Regions from separate parts of the Homo sapiens genome. Here regions 2 and 3 are each linked to region 1. The links are contacts of gene promoters, found by promoter capture Hi-C in human tissues and cell types (Jung and others, 2019). All regions are on one chromosome and are shown on one strand. Each heading gives the region's core, a stretch centred on a gene start or on the middle of the fragment in contact. The rest is flanking DNA. Distances are from core to core; before and after follow the strand shown. Region 1 holds the start of MATN2 (matrilin 2). Region 2 overlaps RIDA (reactive intermediate imine deaminase A). Region 3 overlaps MTDH (metadherin).

The links. Contacts are between HindIII fragments. The study calls those that stand out against the background at their distance.
Region 2: a fragment that was not itself captured here is called in contact with the fragment with the promoter of MATN2 in region 1 in 3 of the 25 tissues and cell types used here (liver, mesendoderm cells and thymus).
Region 3: a fragment that was not itself captured here is called in contact with the fragment with the promoter of MATN2 in region 1 in 1 of the 25 tissues and cell types used here (heart right ventricle).

What each region holds. Positions count from the first base shown.
Region 1 is chr8:97,867,532-97,870,428 of GRCh38, reverse strand. It overlaps MATN2 (matrilin 2), which reads right to left and starts at 1,365. Exons shown (of 19, transcript NM_002380.5): 1 at 1,142-1,365. RefSeq lists an enhancer at 1,765-2,264. The HindIII fragment of the contact is 19,586 bases long and covers 1-2,897 here.
Region 2 is chr8:98,105,418-98,108,314 of GRCh38, reverse strand. It overlaps RIDA (reactive intermediate imine deaminase A), which reads left to right. Exons shown (of 6, transcript NM_005836.3): 3 at 1,989-2,043; 4 at 2,309-2,377. Among named protein-coding and RNA genes, the nearest start is that of RIDA, 10 kb to the left of the region's middle. The HindIII fragment of the contact is 4,745 bases long and covers 1-2,897 here.
Region 3 is chr8:97,648,870-97,651,766 of GRCh38, reverse strand. The region is part of intron 1 of MTDH (metadherin); the gene reads right to left. Among named protein-coding and RNA genes, the nearest start is that of MTDH, 6.1 kb to the right of the region's middle. The HindIII fragment of the contact is 5,862 bases long and covers 1-2,897 here.

The DNA of each region.
Region 1 (2,897 bases), core at 116-2,615:
CTCCTGCCTCAACCTCCCGAGTAGCTGGGATTACAGGCATGCGCCACCAAGTCCGGCTAATTTTGTATTTTTAGTAGAGACGGGGTTTCTCCATGTTGGTCAGGCTGGTCTCGAACTCCCGACCTCAGGTGATCCGCCCGCCCCGGCTTCCCAAAGTGCTGGGATGACAGCCCTGAGCCACCGTGCCCGGCCGCCATATCTCATTTAATCCTCACAGTTCTGTGGGTATTACCATCCTCATTAGACAGATGAGGAAACTGAGGCATACTTGGGTACCTTCAAGTTATCAACCCTGTAAACTTCACAGCTGGGGTTGAAACCCAAGCAGGCTGACCCCAGTCTCTGCTCTCGACCACGGGTCCCTGAAGTCTCTTGACTGCCCCATTCCTTAAAGGCCGATTTTAAGTGTGCTTGGTGCAGATGCATTGTGGCTTCCTGATTTATGACAAATTGAAACTTGGTCAATTGGGTTTGTTCAGGGTGGGCGCGAGTGTCCCTGAGGAGAGCACTTTCCTGTGCCCCCAGTCCTGGAGACCCTACCAGGGACAGTCCCCATTTCTCTGTCCTCTCCCCAAACGGCTCCAAATTGTTCTGGGGTTTCTAGCAACTACCACAAAATGCCTTCCCCTTTCTCTCCCTCTTCCACAATATAGGGAAGCTGGAGGTTTAGCTGCCATAGAGACCCAAGAACAAAATCCAGATGACACGGGCATGAAAATACCAGGTTCCGAAGAGGGAAGGGGGAGCCATCGGCTGTCCGTGGAATAGGAATCACCCTGCATACCCGCTCAACAGGTCTCCCTTTCCCTGGGTCGCGGTGGCCGGGGTCTGGGCGTCCCCGCTGCGTGCCACAGCGCCCCCACGGGGCACTCCGGGGCGGCTGCAGCGCGGCTTGTCCTGCGCAGGGAGCGCGCCCAGCTCTCCCGGCCGAGGGGTCGGGCAGCGCCGCCCTCCCTCTCCCCCTGTCCTCGGAGGGGTCGAAGGCGCCGGGGCCCCGGGGCGCTGGGGGCTGCAGTGCGGGCCTGGGGAGGGCGCCTGCGCGTCGGGCAGCCCAGGCTCGGTATTCTGTCGGTGGGTCGGTCCGCCTGCACTTCGAGGCCGCCCGGCCGCGCAGAGCCGGGGGAAAGCGCGCCGCGCTCACCTGCAGCCGCCGGCGCCTGGGAAGCGAGGCAGGGGCGCAGCCACCCGGGTCTTCCTCGTCGGCCTCTTCGCCTCGCCGAGGGCCGCGGCTCTCCTCGGGGATCGCTCGTGGGAGGCGAGGACGGAGCCCCAGCTTCTGCCTCTGCCTCTGTCTCCGCCGCCGCCGCTTGCTCCAAGTCCCATCCCAGAGCGCTCCCTTCGCTCGCTGGCTGCCTGGGAGGCGCTGGGCAAGGGCGGGCGGCTGGGGAGGCGGTGCCGCGGCGGGGGTGGGGAGCGGGCCGGGCGGAAGGAGGGGTGTCCTCTTTGGGGATGGGGAAGGCGCGGAGAGGGAGCGGCGGCGAGGGCGGCCCCACCCTGTGGGCAGCCCCGGGAGCTGGGCACTCTGGCGGCGCGCCCTGCCTGCTGCCACCTGGCTCCACTCCGTCCGTGCCTGAGCCCAGGCGGGCATCAGACTCCAGGGGTCCGGAGCCGCAGGCACGGAACACAGGCAGCTTTAGGGGCCTGTCGGGTTGGGAGTGCGGGGAGGGGTCTTCTGGGGGAAAGGAGACATGGCAGGAATCTTACATCTAGAACTTGGGGTCATGACCTGCGGGACGCACCCACTGACGCGGGGATGGAGAAAAAAGTGGTGAGAATTGGGCTAATTGATGACAAGCGCCAAGAGCTGTCTTGCCAGTGCCCAGAGCACCCCACCAGTGCCAGTTCATATTAACAGAGCGTCCACTGGCTGGGGACCAGGCCCCGGGATGGGGAGGAGGTAAAGATGCCAGGATGGAGAGGAGACAAAATTCCTACCCCGAGGGAGCAGGGAAAGTCTAGTTCAGACAAGACTTTTGAAATTATGAGCAGAGACATTTGCAACTTTGCAGAATGGAGGAACCTCACCTTGGATGTCCCCATGGAGCCTTGGAGGGATGCAGAAGACAGGATTGGCCAGCGACAGTCAAAGTGGCCGGCACCCCCCTCTACCAGCTCCCCAGTTCCTGGAGGCTGGGGTGAGTGGATGTATAACAGACCAGGACATCTCCTATAAAGCTCCAAAATTCTGTTCCCAAACCACTAGCCAACGCACCCAGTTCAGGTTTTGTGTTTTTGTTTGTTTGTTTGTTTTTTGAGACGGAGTCGCCCAGGCTGGAGTGCAGTGGCGCAATCTTGGCTTACTGCAAGCTCTGCCTCCCGGATTCACGCCATTCTCCTGCCTCAGAGTAGCTGGGACTACAGGCTCCCGCCACCACGGCCGGCTAATTTTTTTTGTATTTTCAGTAGAGACGGGGTTTCACCGTGTTAGCCAGGATGGTGTCGATCTCCTGACCTCGTGATCCGCCCGCCTCGGCCTCCCAAAGTGCTGGGATTACAGGCGTGAGCCACTGCGCCCGGCCCCAGTTCAGGTTTTAACAAGCTACCAGCAGAGGCAGCAGCACTAACTAGTTTCAAAACCTCTGGATGTGCCACAGTCTGATAATTTGGTGCTTTGGGCGGACTTTGTTTTGTAATTAACCATCATTCCTATTTGATGATAGAGTTGATTTCTGAAATATGAATAAACGCCAAAATCAATTCTTCAGAAAAGCTCCAGGAGGGGTAATTAAAATTCCAGCCATGAAGCAAGGGGTTAACATACTCGAGCCATCAGGCAAGTCAATGATACCTTAATACCAAGAAAGAATTGTGGATTCCTGTTCCTTTACCCAGTACCTTAGGCCCACTGGGCACTCTTGGCTGCCTGCACTGATCACAAATAGTTTTTTTGTTATGTC
Region 2 (2,897 bases), core at 130-2,629, 240 kb before region 1:
AAAAAAATTACCACCACAGAAGTAAAAAGTCAACATTTTTAAAAATAAGAATGGGGAATATAATTTTAATCCAATAAATATAATTAAACCATAATTTAGGCCAGGCACGATGTGGCTCACACCTGTAATCCTAGCACTTTGGGAGGCCGAGGCTGGCAGATCACTTGAGGTCAGGAGTTCAAGACTAGCCTAGACAACATGGTGAAACCCCATCTCTACTAAAAATACAAAAATTAGTTGGGGGAGGCCAGGCACAATGGCTCACACCTGTAATCCCAGCACTTTGGGAGGCCGAGGCGGGCAGATCACCTGAGGTCAGGAGTTCAAGACCAGCCTGGCCAACATGGTGAAACCCCGTCTCTACTGAAAATACAAAAATTAGCCAGGTGTGGTGGCATGTGCCTGTAGTCCCAGCTACTCGGGAGGCTAAGGCATGAGAATCGTTTGAACCCGGAAGGCGGAGGTTGCAGTGAGCTGAGATTGTGCCACTCCACTCTAGCCTGGGCAACAGAGCAAGAACCCTGTCTCAAAAAAAAAATAGAAAAAAAAAGTAACCCAGTCAGGTGGCACATGCCTGTAGTCCCAGTTACTCAGGAGGCTGATGCAGAAGAATCGCTTAAACCTGGGAGGTGGAAGTTGCAGGAAGCCAAGATCGTGCCACTGCACTCCTGCCTGGGACACAGAGCAAGACACTGTCTCAAAAAATAAAATAAAATAAAACAATAAACTATAATTTACTGCATTTACTGAGTCATATAATGCTGAAAGTTTGTTTTGTTTTGTTTTGTTTCTTGAGACAGCCTTGCTCTGTCGCCCAGGCTGGAGTGCAGTGTCGTGATCTCAGCTCACTGCAACCTCTGTCTTCCAGGTTCAAGCAATTCTCTTGCCTCAGCCTCCCAAGTAACTGGGACTACAGGCACACGCCACCACACCTGGCTTATTTTTTGTATTTTTAGTAGAGACGGGGTTTTACCGTGCTAGCCAGGATGGTCTCGATCTCCTGACCTCATGATCCACCCACCTCAGCCTCCCAAAGTGCTGAGATTACAGGCATGAGCCTCCACACCCGGCCTAGCTGAAAGATTTTTAAAAACCTAAATATCCACTCATAAAGAACTGGTTGAATAAATTATGCTAGATCAATACAACTAAAGTAATGTGGAAAGATCTCCGAGGTAAATTGTTCCATGGTAATAAAACCAAGATGCAGAACAACATGCACAGTATGCTACCATGTGTGCTTGTGTGTTTAAAAATATGTAACATAAGCATTGACTGTACCTAGAAGGATATACAATAAATTAGGAACAGTGGTTACCTCTGAGGAGGGAAACTTGGGAGAGGGAGAGAGGGGTGAGAGATATCTTTACACGGTATATGCTTTTTTAATAGCTTTTGAGTTTTTTTGTTGTTGTTGTTGCCATATCCATGTATTACCTATTTAGAAGATTATTTTAAAAGACACAAGAATATAATGAAATATTGCATTGTGACCAGCAAAGTGGGAAGAGTGAATCCAAAAAAAGATAAATGTTTTTCCAGAAGCCAGTGTCTCCAACTGTTATATAATTTACTAATATTGTTTTTTTGAGAAAAAGGAAAAAGAACCCTTTGAAGTCAAATATTGCTTTAAAAGAAAATATGTTTTAATGCTTACTAGCTCATCCTTATCCTTGACGTGATATCGAATGAAGAACACCAGAAATTATTTCTGTGGACATTGGCTGAACAATTAACACATTTTAGCACTGAAGAAGGAACTTCAACCTAGTCTTTTTACGCACAAAAGGAGACAACATTTTCACCATATATCAGAAAGACTCATTCTATTAAAGGAAAGCCAAGAAACACACTTGTAAGCGAGTAGGGAGGATTTTTCTGCAACATAGGCTATTTAAGGAGGTATTAGTAAAAGATGATTAATTGAATTTAATTAAAGCTTTAAATCTAACATCAGTGACTTAGGCCTTTCTTGGCTTGGTTCACAGGCTCTTAAAAACATGGGTGAAATTCTGAAAGCTGCAGGCTGTGACTTCACTAACGGTGAGCAATTTGATATTATTTCACATTTCTTTTTGATATTTCTTTGGTCTTTTTGAAAAATATATGGCATCCAGTAAGATGCCGTGCCATATCTTTGTTGCTATTTAAAAGTTGTTTTAAATAGCAACTGTTCTACTTCACTTCTTTGGTCCCATTTCAGTCCCATTTTAATCAAGACAGTCTCAGATTCATACACTCTTTTTCTAAGTAATGTTTTGGGTCAGACCAAATAACTAAACCTAATGACAATGTTTATATCTTCTAGTGGTGAAAACAACTGTTCTTCTGGCTGACATAAATGACTTCAATACTGTCAATGAAATCTACAAACAGTGTAAGTAATTTGGCTTTATTCCTATTTTCCATTTTTAAAAAGAAAGAAATCTGGTCACATTAATGAATGTGCATTATGAATTAAGAGTGGTAGGAGATGCTAAAGAAATGGTCATAGATCTTAAAAGAATTAATAATCTGATTGGAAATATGTTGTATACCCCCCATGAAAAAGTTCTAAGACATTTCTATTGCATTCCCTAAAACAATATACTGAAATCCTACATATCCATTTTTCAAAAGCTTAATTTCATTAAATCCTTCTCAGGCTTTTTAAACTCTCCTAACAAGTTTTTTATGCATAGATTTTATTTACTGTGGCTGTATGGTGCAGCCACCATCTTTATCCTGGCTCTCTCAGACTCATTAGTTAGTTACTTAATATTTCTATGCCTTGGTTTTCTCATATGCAAAATGGAGATAATATACTCCTAACTTATAGGGTTGTTGGAATGATTAAATGAGTCAGTACAACATGTAAAGCACTTAGATGCTGGTGTGTTATAAGCACTGAGTAAATG
Region 3 (2,897 bases), core at 152-2,651, 220 kb after region 1:
GAAATCAAGCATACATGTAGACATGAGGTTCTGGAGATGACAGAACAGTCTAGATACAGATAGGGACTAATATACAGTTGTTCCCCATTATTAATGGATTCTGTATTGGTGAATTTATCTTTTCACTAAAATTTATTTGTTACTCCAAAATCAATACTTGAGGTACTTTCACGGTCATTTCTGGACACGCACATGCACAGAGCTGCAAAGTCACTCTGCAGGCACATTCCCAGCTGAGGTCAAGCCTCCACCTTCTTATTTCAGCTCTCATCACTGTAAATAAGTATCCTTTCTGAGGACTATTTAGTGTCACATATTTTGCATTTTTTGGGTGCTTTTTGTTAGTGATTTTGCTGTTTATAATGGTCCCCAACTGTAGTGCTGAAGTGCTGCTGAGCATTCCTAAGCATAAGAAGGCTGTGATATACCTTACAAAGAAAATAATGCATTAGATAAGCTTTGTTCAGGCATGAGTTCTAGTGCTATTGGCCGTGAGTTCAATGATATGAATCAATTAAATTAAATGTCTTTAAACAGAAACACTCATAAAACAAGACCATGTATTGTATATGGTATTGGTGAAAATATTGTGACCAGAGGCTTGGACCTAATTTTGCACTTTCCCTAGGAGCACTAGTTTAGTACTTGCTAATTCAGTGGGAACTTTATAGAACTTCTGCAGATAAAGAAAATCAACTATGCTGATCTGTTCCAGTACTATTTATAACATACCTTTTATGTGTGTGACCACTAGTAATGCGTTTTGTGCTCCTAATATGGATAATGGGCAGACACTCAGATACTTGCTGAATGACTATTAGAACCAAATGAAATGGTGATATTAGACCATTCTAATCTAAACAATATGGCATAGCCAGGTGTGGTGGTGTGTGCCTGTGGTCCCAGGTAGTCGGGAGGCTGAGGTGGGAGGATCGCTTGAGCCTGAGAGGCGGAGGTTGCAGAGAGCCAAGATCACACCACTGCACTCCAGCGTGGGTGACAGTGAGACCCCAGCTCAAAAAATAAATAAATAAATAAATTTTTAAAAGGCAATTCCATAGTTTCCACTAAACACGAAACATTATGCTAGGTGTTACAATATATAACTCTAGCTGAGGAGCTAGGGAAGGCTTTACAGTTGAAGCAGCACTGCAGCTGGGCCTTGAAGGACAGGTGGAAATTGGTAGAGAGAGGCTGGGCACAGTGACTAACGCTTGTAATTCCAGCACTTTGGGAGGCCTAGGCAGGTGGAGTACTTGAGCTTAGCAGTTCAAGACCAGTCTAGGCAACATAGCAAAACGCCATCTCTACAAAAAATTCAAAAATTAGCTGGGCATGGTGGTGTGCGTCTGTAGTCCCAGCTACTCAGGAGGCTGAGGTGGGAGAGTCGCTTGAGCCTGGGAGGTTGAGGTTGCAGTGAGCCAAGATTACGCCACTGCACTCCAGCCTGGTTGACACAGCCAGACCCTGTTTCGAAAAGAAATTTAAAAATAAAAATAAGAAAAGAAACTGGCCGGGCCTGGTGGCTCATGCCTGTAATCCCAGCACTTTGGGAGGCTGAGGCAGGCGGATCACGAGGTCAGGAAATCGAGACCATCCTGGCTAACACGGTGAAACCCCATCTCCACTAAAAATACAAAAAATTAGCTGGGCATGGTGGTGGGCGCCTGTAGTCCCAGCTACTCAGGAGGCTGAGGCAGGAGAACGTGCGTGAACCCGGGAGGTGGAGTTTGCAGTGAGCTGAGATCGCACCACTGCACTCCAGCCTGGGCGACAGAGTGACACTCCGTTTCAAAAAGAAAAGAAAAGAAAAGAAATTGGTAGAGAGATAGAAAGAAGGGTCTTTTAATAGATAAAAATAATGGCCGGGGGCAGTGGCTCATGCCTGTAATCCCAGCACTTTGGGAGGCTGAGGCAGGTGGACTGCCTGAGCTCAGGAGTTTGAGTCCATGCGTGGGCAACATGGTGAAACTCCATCTCTACAAAAAGTACAAAAATAACCAGGTGTGGTATCGTGCACCTGTAATCCCAGCCACTCGAGGGGCTGAGGTGGGAGGAATGCTTGAGTCTGGGAAGTGGAAGCTGCAGTGAGCTGTGTTCACACCACTGCACTCCAGCCTGGGACAAAGTGAGACTCTGGTCTCCAAAAACAACAACAACAAAAATGAAAATAATCATAAATAAAGAGACACAGAAATCTAGCTAAGCAGAATTATTTCTTGTCTTAGGAGTAATGGTGAGAGACAAGCCTAAGGTAGGGTTAGATCATGAAGAGACTCGAGTGCCATGTCATGAATTTTGCATTTTATTCAACAGGTGATGGGGAAACTACTGAAAGGATGTGAACATCAAAGTCACATGATCAGGGTTGGGCTTCAAAAGACTCTACTCACACGAGTGGGTAGAAAAGATTGGCAAAAAAGAAACTGGAAGCAGGAAAACTAGTTAGGATGATGTTAGAACAGTCTAAACAAAAGGTAATAAAGTCCTAAAGTAGGGCAGTGGCAGTGAAACTGGAACAGAAGTAATGACTACAAAAGACACTGCATACTATTAGAATACAGTCATACACTGCTTAATGAGAATACATTCTGAGAAATGCATCTTTGTGCAAACATCACATAGTATACTGACACAAACCTAGGCTACAAACCTGTACAGCATGTTGCTGTACTGAATACTGTGGCAACTGTAACACAATGGTAAGTGTTTGTGTATCTAAACATAGAAAAGGTATAGTAAAAATACAATATCATAATCTTATGGGGTCATTATATAGGCAGTGCTTCACCTCACAAAATTACAGCCAGATGAGGCAAACAGCCACTTTCCACTTAAAGAGAAAAAGGGGGCTCACATAGGTATTTACCAAGCATGAATAATAGGAGTAAGCTGTA